5 separate regions of the Homo sapiens genome follow, and regions 2, 3, 4 and 5 are each linked to region 1. Evidence: promoter capture Hi-C in 16 types of primary human blood cells and fetal thymus (Javierre and others, 2016). All regions are on one chromosome and are shown on one strand. The core of a region is centred on a gene start or on the middle of the fragment in contact, and the rest is flanking DNA. Distances in the headings are between cores, read along the strand shown.

Evidence for each region. Contacts are between HindIII fragments. The CHiCAGO score rates a contact against its expected background, and 5 or more counts as called.
Region 2: a contact is called between a fragment that was not itself captured here and the fragment with the promoter of CERS6-AS1 in region 1, in 4 of 17 cell types (total CD4 T cells, non-activated CD4 T cells, total CD8 T cells and 1 more). The highest score is 6.8, in total CD4 T cells.
Region 3: a contact is called between a fragment that was not itself captured here and the fragment with the promoter of CERS6-AS1 in region 1, in 1 of 17 cell types (total CD4 T cells). The highest score is 5.2, in total CD4 T cells.
Region 4: a fragment that was not itself captured here is called in contact with the fragment with the promoter of CERS6-AS1 in region 1 in 14 of 17 cell types (naive CD4 T cells, naive CD8 T cells, total CD4 T cells and 11 more); the score reaches 12.1 in naive CD4 T cells.
Region 5: a contact is called between a fragment that was not itself captured here and the fragment with the promoter of CERS6-AS1 in region 1, in 1 of 17 cell types (activated CD4 T cells). The highest score is 6.6, in activated CD4 T cells.

The regions. Positions count from the first base shown.
Region 1 is chr2:168,785,015-168,787,714 of GRCh38, forward strand. CERS6-AS1 (CERS6 antisense RNA 1) reads right to left here and starts at 1,415. Exons shown (of 3, transcript NR_045787.1): 1 at 1,343-1,415. It also overlaps a transcript of NOSTRIN not described here. The HindIII fragment of the contact is 3,155 bases long and covers 1-2,700 here.
Region 2 is chr2:168,308,938-168,311,837 of GRCh38, forward strand. No RefSeq gene overlaps it. Among named protein-coding and RNA genes, the nearest start is that of STK39, 63 kb to the left of the region's middle. The HindIII fragment of the contact is 3,746 bases long and covers 1-2,900 here.
Region 3 is chr2:168,388,538-168,391,252 of GRCh38, forward strand. The region is part of intron 2 of LOC105373734 (a long non-coding RNA gene); the gene reads right to left. Among named protein-coding and RNA genes, the nearest start is that of CERS6, 66 kb to the right of the region's middle. The HindIII fragment of the contact is 3,412 bases long and covers 1-2,715 here.
Region 4 is chr2:168,327,038-168,329,791 of GRCh38, forward strand. No RefSeq gene overlaps it. Among named protein-coding and RNA genes, the nearest start is that of STK39, 81 kb to the left of the region's middle. The HindIII fragment of the contact is 5,744 bases long and covers 1-2,754 here.
Region 5 is chr2:168,289,018-168,291,717 of GRCh38, forward strand. No RefSeq gene overlaps it. Among named protein-coding and RNA genes, the nearest start is that of STK39, 43 kb to the left of the region's middle. The HindIII fragment of the contact is 694 bases long and covers 950-1,643 here.

The DNA.
Region 1 (2,700 bases), core at 165-2,664:
TAACGCTAGTTTTTTAGGGATCTGGGTTTTAAGAATGGGCTGAAAGACTCATAGGGAAAAAGTCCCAGGGGTGGGTAGTAGGTGAGGGATGAAATGCTACAAAGCGAGTTTATTTTCTGTAACTTGAGTTATAGGAAATAAAAGAGCAGTTCCCAGCCCTCCTCTTTTTGAGTCATAGCTGTTAATTTGATTCATCAGGACTGAACTCTTGGCTCTGGCCAAAGTTCCTGACCCAGAGTGCTAGTTACTGTCTGGCAAGCCATCAAGCAATCCTATGTTAGATTTCAGACTAATTGGAGCTATGTCACCAAAGATGAGTTCAAAAGGGTCCCTAGAGTTTTTAAGAGCAAAGAGTATTGTTTTTCTCTCAGCTGAGGGTACTAGATGGTACATAGAACTGAGCCCTGATGTACTACACTTCTAGTGCTGCCATTTCTTAGTTGTATCACTTAGAAGTCATTTCTGAGGAGTTATAAAATAGTTTGCACTATGCTAACCAGTAGTTTACACTATGCTACATGTACCAAATTGTTTACCCACAGAGCCAGAACACTAATGAAAGCAGTAAAATGCACATCAACATTAAGTCAATAAATGTATTGAGCACCAATCGTTCGAGACATTATGTTAGGCTTTGTGAGGAGTATGAGGAAGTCAGGGGCAAAGCTGCTGCATTGAAGGGGGTCTCAATACAGTTAGGGAGGTAGGCCACAGGCAGAAGTTATTAGCTCTAAAGATTTTTTTTTTTTTTTAAGACAGAGTCTCACTCTGTTGCCCAGGCTGGAGTGCAGTGGCACGGGATCTCAGCTCACTGCAACCTCTGCCTCCCAGGTTCAAGTGATTCTCGTGCCTCAGCCTCCTGAGTAGCTGGAATTACAGGTGCATGCCACCACACCCAGCTAATTTTTTTGTATTTTTAGTAGAGATGGGGTTTCACCATATTGGCCAGGCTGGTCTTGAACTCCTGGCCTCAAGTGATCCACCTGCCTCGGCCTCCCAAAGTGCTAGGATTACAGGCATAAGCCACTGCACACGGCCAGCAAAAGGCTTTTAAAAATAAAAATAAAATCTATAGATATAAGACATTGGTATCATCGTTATATCAAATATGTTGTGAGAATAGTAATTGCCAGAAAAGTTCAGAGGAGAGAGAGGTTGTGTTATAGTAGTCAGGCAGACATCAGCAGGCCAGGAGAGGGCTGCACGCCCAACCAGGAATGTCAGACGACCATCAAGTGATGGTCAGGTGGTTGTTACACTGTTACAATCATTATTTCTCTAAAACAATAATTAGTCACAGCCAGCACGAGGGAAAGGCAATCTCCCGACAGACAGAAAAAACCTGAAACTGGTTATCAGCAGCGTCCCAATAAGATCTCAGGTGTTAGGTAAGTGGGCTCAAGCATGCGCACTATGAGGCAAAATGGGGGAGTTTAACTGGTATATGACCTTCCTCTAGGAACGTTAGATTGGTAATAGAAGAACGTCTCAAGTGAGCATGCGTATAACTCCCGTAAACACACTGCGCATGCAGCCCTTCCCAAGCACTGGTAGGGCACTGGGCATGCAGACAGCCCACCAGAAGGGAAGAATCAGGAGAAAAGGGATGCAAGATCCCAGAGGTATGCCAATATATAAAACCCTAAGGCAAAGGTCAAGCCAGCCACTTGATCCCTCAAGTGGCCAGCTTGGCCCTCCTCGAAGTGTACTTTACTTCCTTTCGTTCCTGCCCTAAAACCTTTTAGTAAACTTTCACTCTTGCTCTAAAACTTGCCTCAGTCTCTCAGTCTGCCTTATTTTTCCTCGGTCAAATTCTTCCCTGCCTCCCCCCTCCTCCAGAGTAGCTGGGACTACAGGCGCCCGCCATCACACCTGGCTAATTTTTTGTATTTTTAGTAGAGACGGGGTTTCACCATGTTGTTCAGGCTGGTCTCGAATGCCTGACCTCAAGTGATCCACCTGCCTCAACCTTCCAAAGTTCTGGGATTACAGGCGTGAGCCACCACACCCGGCCCCAAATTCTTTCTTCTAAGGAGCTAAGAATTGAGTTCGCTGCGGACCCATAAGGATTCGCTGCTCGTAACAGCTGCTTCTGGGATCAGGTAAGAAAAGGTTTCAAGCAGAAAGCTAGGAAGAATGAATAGTATTTGAATGAGTCAAGTGGAAAGAGGAAAGGCATTTGAGACAAAGGGCATAGCGTGAAGCAGTGAGGCAGCCTCCACCCCACTTCCTACCACCTGTTCTCCCCCTTAGTGGCCTGACCTTGACCTTCCACTCCATCCTCATCCCTCCCCATGGGCACTGTCTCAGAATGTGCCATGCCTGTGACAGCTCCAGGACTCTGGCCATACTGCTTACACTGCCACAGAGACCTCTTTCCTCTTCTTCTTCATGTCGCTAACTCTTACTTGGCCTTGAAGACTAATTTGTGTTAGAAGTTAGTCTTCCCAGAAAGCCTTAGCCTTTGGGAATTTGGTGCTCTTCCTTGAGAAGAAAAGGTACAACCATTTAACTCCATCAGAACACTTATCACACGGCCTTCCCCACTGGACTCAATGGAAGCATCTTGAGGGCAAAGGCCTTACCTTTTATAGCTGATCCTTATCAGCCACAGTGTCCACTACACAGCAGGTGCCCAATAAATTCCTGTAGAATGAATATGCATTTACAGAAAGAGGAGCTGTGAGAAGATGCCTCAGT
Region 2 (2,900 bases), core at 97-2,596, 480 kb before region 1:
TTTTCTTTAGTGCTTTAAGTATATTATGTCACTCTTTCCTGGCCTATAAAGTTTTCACTGAAAAGTCTGATGCCAGATGTATTGGAGCTCCATTGTATGTTGATTCTTTTCTCTTGCTGCTTTTAGGATCCTTTCTTTATCCTTGACTTTGGGAGTTTGATTCTTAAATGCCTTGAGGTAATCTTCTTTGGGTCAAATGGTGTTTTATAACCTTCTTGCACTTGAATGTTGATATCTTTCTCTAGGTTTGGGAAATTCTTTGATATTATTCCTTTGAATAAACTTTCTATCCCTTCCTCTTTCTCTACCTCCTCTTTAAGCCCAACAACTCTTAGATTTGTCCTTTTGAGGCTATTTTCTAGACCTAGTAGGCATGCTTCATTCTTTTTTATTCTTTTTTTCTTTTGTCTCCTCTGACTGTGTATTTTCAAATGGTCTGCCTTCAAGCTCACTAATTCTTTCTTCTTCTTGATCAATTCTGCTATTAAGAGACCTGATGCATTCTTCAGTATGTCAGTTGCATTTTTCAGCTCCAGAATTTCTGCTTGATTCTTTTCAATTATTTTAATCTCTTTGTGAAATTTATCTGATAGAATTCTGAATTCCTTCTCTGTGTCATCTTGAATTTCATTGTATTTCTCCAAAATAGAAATTTTGAACTCTCTGAAAGGCCATATATCTTCGGTTCTCCAGAATTTGTCCCTGGTGGCTTATTTAGTTTGTTTGGTGAGGTCCTATTTTCCTGGATGGTCTTGATGCTTGTGGATGTTTTTAAGTGTCAGTTAGGTATTTATTGAAGTCTTCACAGTCTGGGCTTGTTTGTGTCTGTCTTCTTGGCAAGGCTTTCCAGGTACTCAGAGCAACTTGGTCCCCAACCCCAATAACACTATGGTTCCTGCAGACTCACAGAGGTACCACATTGGTGACCTTGGATAAAATTCAGAAGAATAATCTGGATTACCATGCAGAGACTTTTGTTTTCTTCCCTGACTCTTTCCCAAACAAATGGAGTCTCTCTCTTTCTCTATCTCTGTGCTGAGCCACTTGAAACCGTAGGTGTGGTGATATAAGCACCCCTGTTGCCACCACTGCTGGGACTGTACTTTGTCAGACCTGAAGCCAGCACAGCACCGAGGTTACCCAAGGCCCACTGTAACCACTGCCTGGCTACCACCTAAGTTCACTCAAGGCCCCAGGGCTCTGTAATCAGCAGGTGGTAAAGCCAGCCAGGTTTGTGCCCTTCCCTTAAAGGCAACAAGTTCCTCAAGGCCCTGGGCAGGTCCAGAGCTGTTGTCTGAGAGCCAGAGATTGGAGTAAAAAACCTTAGGATTTTGCCTGATGTTCTTTTTTACTGCAGCTAAGCTGGCACTCAAACCAGAAGAGAAAATCCTTCTTGCTCTTCCTTCCCCTTTCCACAGGCAGAGGAGCATCTCCCTGTGGCCACTGCCACCACAGGCCCAGAGGTGAGGGGTGTATTCTCCCACACCACTGCAGATGTTCACTTAAAGCCCAAGGGCTCTTCAGTCAGTTTGTAGTGAATGCTACGAGGACCAGGACTCATCCTTCAGGGTAGTAGGCTACCCTCATGCCCTGGGCAGGCCCTAAAATGCTATCCAAGAGCCTAGGCCTGGACTCGAGGACTGCAAGAGCCTGCTTGTTGCTCTACCCCACTGTGGCTGTGCTGGTACCCAAGGTACAAGACAAAGTCCCTTTTACTTTCCCTCTGCTTTTCTCAAATGGAAGGAGTCTAAAGGAGTTTTTCACTGTAGCTGTCACACCTGGAAATGTGCCACGTCACACCTGAACTCAGCACATTCTCAAAGCCCAAGGCCCACAGTGTACTACTTGGGTGTTGCTGCTGGTTATTCAGGACCCAAGGGCTCTTTAGTCAGCAGGTGATTAATCCTTCCAGGACTGAGTCCTTCCCTTCAAGGCAAGGGGTTCCCATTTTTCCAGTGGGTTCCCAGAGTGTGTCTATAAATGTCCATGATCCAGGGTCTGGAATGGGGGGATACCTCATAACTCTGCCCAGTGCTCTATCTTACTGTGGCTGAGCTAGTATCCAAGATACAAGATGAAGTCCTGTTTACTCTTTTATTTCCTCCCCTTAAGCAAAAGGAAGGAGTCACTTTCATTGCTGTGAGCTGCACTGCTTAGGGTTGAAGAAAGAGTGGCACAAGCACTCTTTTAGCTGTTCCAGCTGGTGAGGTACCAGGTCACCCTAGTCCTCTTCTCTGAGCCCAGCTCAACACTAGGAGTTGCTTAGGAATTGCAGGCCTCATGTCCTAGACTGTCTTTCAAGTTTACCTAAGACCCAAGAGCACTTTGGCCTGCGGTGGCAAGGCTTGCCAAGAAACTCAAGTTCTGACCACCAGATGGGCAATTCCCCTCTGGCTAGGTCTGGTCCAAATGTCCCATCCTTGATCAGGTGCTGGCTGAACCCAGCATGGTTTTGTTTTCCTCTATGACAGGGCAGCAGTGAGTTCAATGTAAAGTCCTCCAAGTGCACAGACTCTCCACCCTGCACAGCTGCTGCCCAGGGATGGGGGAGGGGTGGTGTTGGTGATTCAAGACTGTCTCTCCAACTCTCTTTAATGCCTCTTTTGGTGATATGATATTAAAACCAGGTACTATGATTTCTCACCTGATTTTTGGCTCTTGTGACAGTGCTTTTCTGTGTGCAGATAGTTGTTAAAATGTGGTGTTCCTGCAGAGGAGACAAAGGGCATAGGCTTCTATTCTGCCAGCTTTTTCTGCCTCCTGGAGTATTTCTAAATGTGGGCTATTTATACAAAAGCTCCGGGGTGAGCTATTAGACTACAGCTGCCTATGTTCTTTATCTGTGCTGTTTAATATGGTAGCCACTAGCCACATGTGTTGAACACTTGAAATGTGGCACA
Region 3 (2,715 bases), core at 177-2,676, 400 kb before region 1:
GTAGAGATTCCTTAAAGAACTAAAAGTAGAACTATCATTTGATCCAGCAATCCCATTACTGGGTATCTACCCAGAGGAAAAGAAGTCATTATATGAGAAAGATACTTGCACACACATGTTTATAACAGCACAATTCACAATTGCAAAAACATGGAACCAACCCAAATTCCTATCAATCAATGAGTGGATAAAGAAACCGTGGTGTATATATATATATACGTGTGTGTGTATATATATATATATATATATATATATATATATATATATATATATACACGTATATATATATACACGTATATATATATATACACATATATATATATATACACGTGTATATATATATACACGTGTGTATATATATGATGGAATACTACTTAGCCATAAAAGGAATGAATGAATGGCATTACAGAGACATGGATGAGATTGGAGACCATTATTCTAAGTGAAGTAACTCAGGAATGGAAAACAAAACATCATATGTTCTCACTCATAAGTGGGAGCTGAGCCATGAGAATGCAAAGGCATAAGAATGACACAATGGACTCTGGGGACTCAGGGGGAAAGGGTGAGAAGGGGGTGAGGGACAAAAGACTACAAATGGGGGGCAGTGTATACTGCTCGGGTGATGGGTGCATCAAAATCTCACAAATCACTAAAGAACTTACTCACGTAACCAAAAAATACCTGTTCCCCAATAACCTATGGAAATAATTTTTTTTAAGTACGGGTAATAAAAGCAAAAATAGACAAATGGGATTACATTGGGCTACAAAGCTCCTGCATGGCAAAGGAATGATCAATAGAGTGAAGAGACAACCCATGATTGGGAGAATGTATTTGCAAATCCTACATCTAGTAAGAGGCTCATATCCAAAATATACAAGGAACTCAAACTACTCAACAAGAAGAAAACAAATAATCCTATTAAAAATTAGGCAAAGAACTTGAAGAGATAGCTTTCAAAATAAGACACACAAATGGCCAACAGACAAATAAAAAGTGCTCAACATCCCTAATCATGAGAGAAGTGAAAATTAGGACTACAATGAGCTAATAATGCCTCACACCTGTTAGACTGGCTATCATCAAAAAGATGAAAGATAACACGTGTTGCCAAGAATATGGAGAAATGGGAAACTTTGTACATTGTTGGTCAGAATTAAATTAGTACAGCCATTTTGGAAAACAGTAGGAAAGCCCCTTAAAGAACTAAAAATAAAATTAATTACCATAGGATCCAGCAACTCCACCAATGAGTATATATCCAAAAGAATTGAAATTAGTATGCCATAGTGATGTCTGAGCTCCCATGTTTATTACAGCATTATTCACAATAGCCAAGATATGGAAACAACCTAAGTGTCTATCACTGGATGAATGAATTTTAGAAATGTGGCATATATACACAATAGATTATTCATCCATAAAATAACCAGGAAATTCTATCATTTGTGACAACATGGATGAAACTAGAGGCCATTAAGTGAAATAAGCTAGGCACCAAAAGACAAATACCACATTCTCTCTTATGGTATGAGTTCACACTCGTATTATGTGAACTCTAACAAAAGCTAGCCTCATGGAAGCCGAGAGTAGAACAGTGGTTACCGGAGGCTAGGAGGGAGGGTTAAAAAAATGGAAGAGGGGATGTTGGTCAATGGGTACAAAGTTTCTATTACATAGGAGGAATAAGATATGGTGTTCTATTGCACAGTAGAGTGACTATAGGTAATAACAATGTATTATGTATTTCAAAATAGCTAGAAGATAGGATTTTGAATAATTTCACTAGAAAGAAATGATAAATCTTAGGCTGGGCATGGTGGCTCACGCCTTTAATCCCACACTTTGGGAGGCCGAGGTGGGTGGATCACCTGAGGTCAGGAATTGGAGACCAGCCTGACCAACACGGAGAAGTCTCTACTAAAAATACAAAATTAGCCAGGCATGGTGGCACACACCTATAATCCCAGCTACTTCGGAGGCTGAGGCAGGAGAATTGCTTGAATCCGGGAGGTGGAGTTTGCAGTGAGCCGAGATCACCCATTACACTCCAGCCTGGGCAACAAGAGTGAAACTCCGTCTTGAAAAAAAAAAAAAAGATAACTCTTTGGGGTGATAAATATACTAATTACCTAATTTGATAATTACAAAATGTATGTACGTATCAAAACATCACATTGTAGCCCATAAATATGTATAATTACTATTTATCAATTAAAAATTAAAAATTAAACTAAAAAAAAAACAGTACTCCTGAAACACAGTTTTCTCTACTCTTATCTATTTCAATGCCCATTCCAACAATACCTGTACCTGGATAACTATTAATTTTAAGTATTCTTTATGGGGAAAATATCCAAGTTTTCTACTCGTTTCTCTGTTTCAGTTCAGATACGATTGCAAAAGAATTAATGTATTTCTTGTAATGATTCTTGTCTTTCTAGTTCAGAGATTTTATAACCTGCTAGAGAAATGAACATTCTGTCTTTCTGATTTTGGTTTGAAATTTGACATACACTTTTGCCAGGAGAAAATCTTTTATACATGTCAAAGGAGGAAAAGAAGTAGTTCAATCCTCTTGTGTTTTCTTTGAAGAAAGAAGGAAAGGTTTAATTTGGACAGGTATGATGCTCATAGAAATTCTGATAAAAGAATTCATCAGTGGACAGAAAGTGAACACACTTTCAAAATTTCAGTACTGTTTCTTGGCTT
Region 4 (2,754 bases), core at 235-2,734, 460 kb before region 1:
TCTGTGAACTCTTTTGGAACTGAGAATTATAAGATCAAGTATATGTGACTCTCTAGTCACTCCAAGTAGAAATTTAGGGAGCATGACTCCAACCTCTAATGAAACCAGAAAGGTAGGAATAAAAAAAAAAAGTCACTTAATATGCAAATTATTGATACATGGCAATAAAACAAAATGAGTTTTAAGGTATTTTTAAAACTAGGAATGTGATATAGAGGTGGTGGGATAGTAAATTTTATGTGTCAACTGGGCTGGACCATGGGGTACCCAGATATTTGGTCAAACATTCTTCTGAGTATTTCTGTGAGGGTTTTTGGATGAACTTAACATTTACATTGGTGGACTTTGATTAGAACAGATTGTGGGTGGGCTTTATCCAGTAAGTTGAAGTCCTGAGTGGAACCAAAAAATGGCCTCCCTGAGCAAGCGGGGATTTTCCTTTGGACTTCATCTACAACCAGCTCTTCCTGGTTCTACAGGAAGTAGATCAGACTTCATCTACATCAGCTCTTCCTGGTTCTACAGCAGCCTACCGGCCTTTGGATTCGAACTGGACACAGGTTCTCCTGGATCTCCAACCTGCCAGCCACTTTGCAGATATTGGACTTGCCAGTCTCCATAACCACATGACCCAATTCCTTATAATAAATCCCTTTCTCTCTCTTCATACATATATATATACACATATATACATGCTATTGGCTTTGTTTCTCTGGAGTATCCTGACTAATATAGGTGGTAGATGAGATCTTTAAGTGTTTAAGTAAGGGGAGGAAAAACATGATCATAGTGATTTTCAAACAGGTCACAGATTTGTTGACATTCTTATCAAAAGGTGACAAGTATGTCATCACCTGTTGAATCTTGGTGGGCTTGTGACTGCTTGGATCAAAAAGTATGACAGAAGTGGGACTGTGAAACTTCTGAGGCTATATCATAAAAGTCATGCAGCTTTCACCTTGTTCAATGAACACATACTCTTGGAGCCCTGAGGGGCCATGTATAAATGCTGAATACAGTGCTTTTTCTGGAGGGGCTCAAAGATGGCTGACTAGAGACATTTTGTACTCACCTCTTCTACTAAGAAGAACCAAAATTGTGAGATTATTACACTTGGAATAGATCATCCAAGAGAGAACACTAGAATTCAATGGAAAAGTGACAGGAACTACCTAAAGCAAGAAAGGAGAAGAAAGTGAAGCAATCTGCTGAACTGGAATTGGCTAGAAGCTGAGAGAGACTCCTCAATGTGGAGAAAGGGTAAATGAGAGATTCTCAGTGGTCTACATTTCTGCTTTGGACTTTTGCAATCCTAGCCATGGGAAATCCCCTAGACTCTTGTAAGCCCTGAAACTAACATATGGAGCTGCCAGGAGATTGTATGATGGCATTGCTCCTGGCTCCTGGGTCAGGGTGGGGTGCTTGCATTGGGTCCCACACACTCTCTGAGACATAAGCAGCTCCAGCAAGGTGTCATTTTAGAGCCCTACCTCCAGTGGGCTGTGTACTATCCAGGGGCCCAACAGCGCTAGATCTGAGGAACAAGTGAAGCATGGGCTGCTGCCCCCAAGGCCTAGGCATAAGCAACTGCAAGCTACAACACCCACAACTGAGATGTGAGTGAGGCACTGGCTTCTGCAGCAAGTGTTGAAGTGCAGGCACTGCTGGCATGAATGGTGTGTGCATTCTCCACCTGCTGGCCTACGCTACTCACCACTGAAGGCAGCACTACCCTCCCCAGTGGCAGGGCAGCAGTGCAGTCATTTGTGGTCCATACCAGACCATTCTGCCAGTAGCCTGGGCATTGCTCTGCCCCAGCCTACCATGGCTGGTGCCTGCACACACAATCAGAGAGCCTGAGGACAAGCCCATCTGGCTGAGCTTAGATCCCCCAACACACTGTGCCAGAGCACACAATCCAGGGACCAGGGTGTTGTCCACGCCAGTCCACATAACTGGAACAAGAACACTCCTCACTAAACCCCAAGTTTGGACCTACTCACTGAGCCACTAACACTATAGCTGGCACCTGCCTGCATGTGCTACCTGTGGGCCCAAAGACTGGTCTGCCCAGCCCATCTCAGCCACTGACAACACTATCACACACAGCTTGGGACCCAGTGGTCATCATACCACTGCTACTGTCATTGTCACACCATCCTGGCTGCCAAAGGGCTAAAGAACCACCCCCACCTGCCTGGTCCACTGCTACCACTACCAGCATCCAAGTAAGCCACATGGAGGCCAAAAATTGGGCTGCCTTGGTCCACTAATATAAGTGCCAGTATATGCAGCCCTGGGATCCAGGAACAGGTGCATTCAACCCACCACTGCCACCCCTGGGGCTCAAAGACTGGCCTACCTGCTGTCCCAGGCCCCAGCAAAACTTTACCACAGTCTCCAGTAATAACTGCACCCTAAGCCATGGAGGAAATTATAGATACTACTAATACTGTTTACAGCTGAAGAAATCATACAGAGACTAAACTACTGCACACACCAAGAATCAAAGACAGTGTGTTACCCAACCAACATCATGGATACATCTTCAGGAAAAAGTCCTCCCCCATGAAAGCAAATTCAAAAAAATTGGAAGAAGCAACTGTTACACCAAATGTGCAGATATCAATATAAGGACACAGGAACCAAAAAGCAAGAAAATATGACACTTCCAAAGGAACACAATAATTCTTTAGCAACAGATCCCAATCAAAAAGAAATTAATAAATCCCAGAAAAAGAATTCAAATGATTG
Region 5 (2,700 bases), core at 47-2,546, 500 kb before region 1:
GCTGTCCTTATACGATGCTACCTTCCTGGTCAAGTTTGGTCTGGAGTAGGCACCTAGTCAAAGCTGCCTCAATTATAATTTCATGTCCCTTTGGGCACAGGTAACTGGACCAGGTCCCAAAGTCCTCAAGAATTTCCAGTTAAAACTCAGAGAGCTTTAAGTTTGTATTTCCATGGTGGAAGATACAAGATACAATATTAGGGAAACTGCGATGCACTCTTCCTCTAATGGAGAGAAAGTCAGTGCTCTACGTCAGAGAATAAAACCAATACTCAGAGAAGCAAAAATGGATGACAAAATGTCTTGGTTGGGGGACTTCCTTGTACATTTGTTCCTGAGGCCCAGCTACATCAGTGAATATCATGTGTTTGTGCCGGTTTAAACCTCCTTTAGGTTTCATGAACCAATAATTTCCCCTTTGAGCTTAAACTAGGTTTTTGTCACTTGCAGAGAACTACAAAAGGCACACTGCCTATTTTACAGATTACGTAGGATCACCTTGTTTAAAAATTTGAGTTTCAGACCACACACGGCGGCTCACGTCTATATTCCCAGCACTTTGGGAGGCCAAGGTGGGTCGATCACCTGAGGTCAGGAGTTTGAGACTAGCCTGGCCAACATAGTGAAACCCCGTCTCTACTAAAAATACAAAAATTAGCTGGGTGTGGTGGCCCACGCCTGTAGTCCCAGCTACTCAGGAGGCTGAGGTAGGAGAATCACTTGAACCTGGGAGGCAGAGGTTGCAGGGAGCCAAGATCATGCCACTGCACTCCAGCCAAGGTGACAAAGCAAGACTCTGTCTCAAAAAAAAAAAAAAAAAAAATTGAGTTTCAATTATTATTACACAATTTAGGCATCTCAGCTTCTCTTTATGACCTGCATGTTTCTAAAAGTCATACCTTTAAATTAGAATGCTATTTCTGTTAAATGACTATCATGTTTGTGAAAAAGCTTATTTAAAAATTCATTGGAAATTTACAAATGAAATAGTGAAGTGGCTTATGGCATTCTTGTTCCCTCACGTGAAAGAGTCAGAGAATGTGCGTCATCACACAACTACCATAAAAACGGGCTATGCTGGGTTATAAAACAATGTTGTCAACACTTTAAGCCAGGTTTGCATGTCAGAGTGTCTGTCAGTTGAAAATCCTATAAACATTTTTCATAGAGAATTAGTTCTAAGGACATCTCTGTTAAAATATTTCTCTTCTTATTTGTTCACTTTATTTTCTTTATCGTCGCGATTCCTTATTTAAGGACAGGTGACAGGACTTCATGAAGACCTGTTAATAGAATATTATCTTGGTATATGGGGAAGAATATATGATATTTGGAATAGAGGGTGTCTGTGAAGAGTAACGTTAGAATTTGGTTTAAAGAGTTTAAGGAGATGCACCCTTTTGAATTTCTAAATTCGAATTCCTCAGTCTCTTGGGTACTCTGTGAAGCTAATTTATTATGAACGATGGACAGAGCTCCCATTTCCGGGTGCCCTCTTCACGGCAGTGACCAGGGAAGAACATAAATGGTCGGACAGTGCTGCTAAGATGAGGTCGCAGCACAAAAAGTCCCATTCCTCAGGCTGGCTCAACTCCAGCAATAGAGATGAGTCCCAGGGGTTCCTGCATGGTCCCCAGCCAGTAAGCTTTTGCCAGGACTTTCCTAAAGATGCTGTGAGATTTTTTGACACTGAGTAAATAATAAAGAGTAAAGAAATAACTTATTAAATAAAGATGATTGCATTCCTATTACAGGCCTCATGTTAAATCGGAATTGGAGAAAACCCTGTTGGCAGATAGAAAACTTTAAAATCTATTTCATTCCTGTTTTCCCTTTTCCTTTTCTTTTCTTTTTTTTTTTTTTTTTTTTTTTTTTGAGACAGAGTCTCGCTCTGTCACCCAGGCTGGAGTGCAGTGGCGCGATCTCTGTTCACTGCAAGCTCCTCCTCCTGGGTTCATGCCATTCTCCTGCCTCAGCCTCCCAAGTAGCTGGGACTACAGGCACCTGCCACCAAACCCGGCTAATTTTTTTGTATTTTTAGTACAGACAGTGTTTCACCATGTCAGCCAGGATGGTCTCGATCTCTTGACCTCGTGATCCGCCCACCTCGGCCTCCCAAAGTGCTGGGATTACAGGCGTGAGCCACCGTGCCCGGCCCTCTTTTTCTTTGTCCTAACTACAGATTTGCAGAATCCCTGAGAGACTGTAACTACCTATGGCTCTTCTCCCCCTATTAATATTTTTTTAATCTAAAACCAGGGAACCATGAGATATTTGAAGTGGTTGGAGTGACCTCATTGACAGAAGTGTGCATCCCTGAGTTCCATAAAAATGCTTAGAGCCCCCCAAAAATCAGTCATCACCAGCCTTCCCCTCCCTCTATTATTCGTTATGAGATTTAGGGTGATAAGCTGACTGGTTTCAGAAGGAGCCTGAAGAAAATATGGTGCTATTTGGTAGGTACTCATCTATAACGTTGTTACAGAAGCTTTCACTTTTGAGTCAGGCTTGGTGTGCTCTTTGGGTCGATAACATTTCAACAACCTTGTATGAGTGCAAGAAATGCCCAGCATCTCTTTCCAGGGTCTCTGAAAGATCATGACCTCAGAGCAAGGGACCATGATGTTGGTAATATCTTTAGTGGCTTAACCAAAATTTGTATATTTAATCTTTAATAATTGGGACGCTATGTGTTCATAT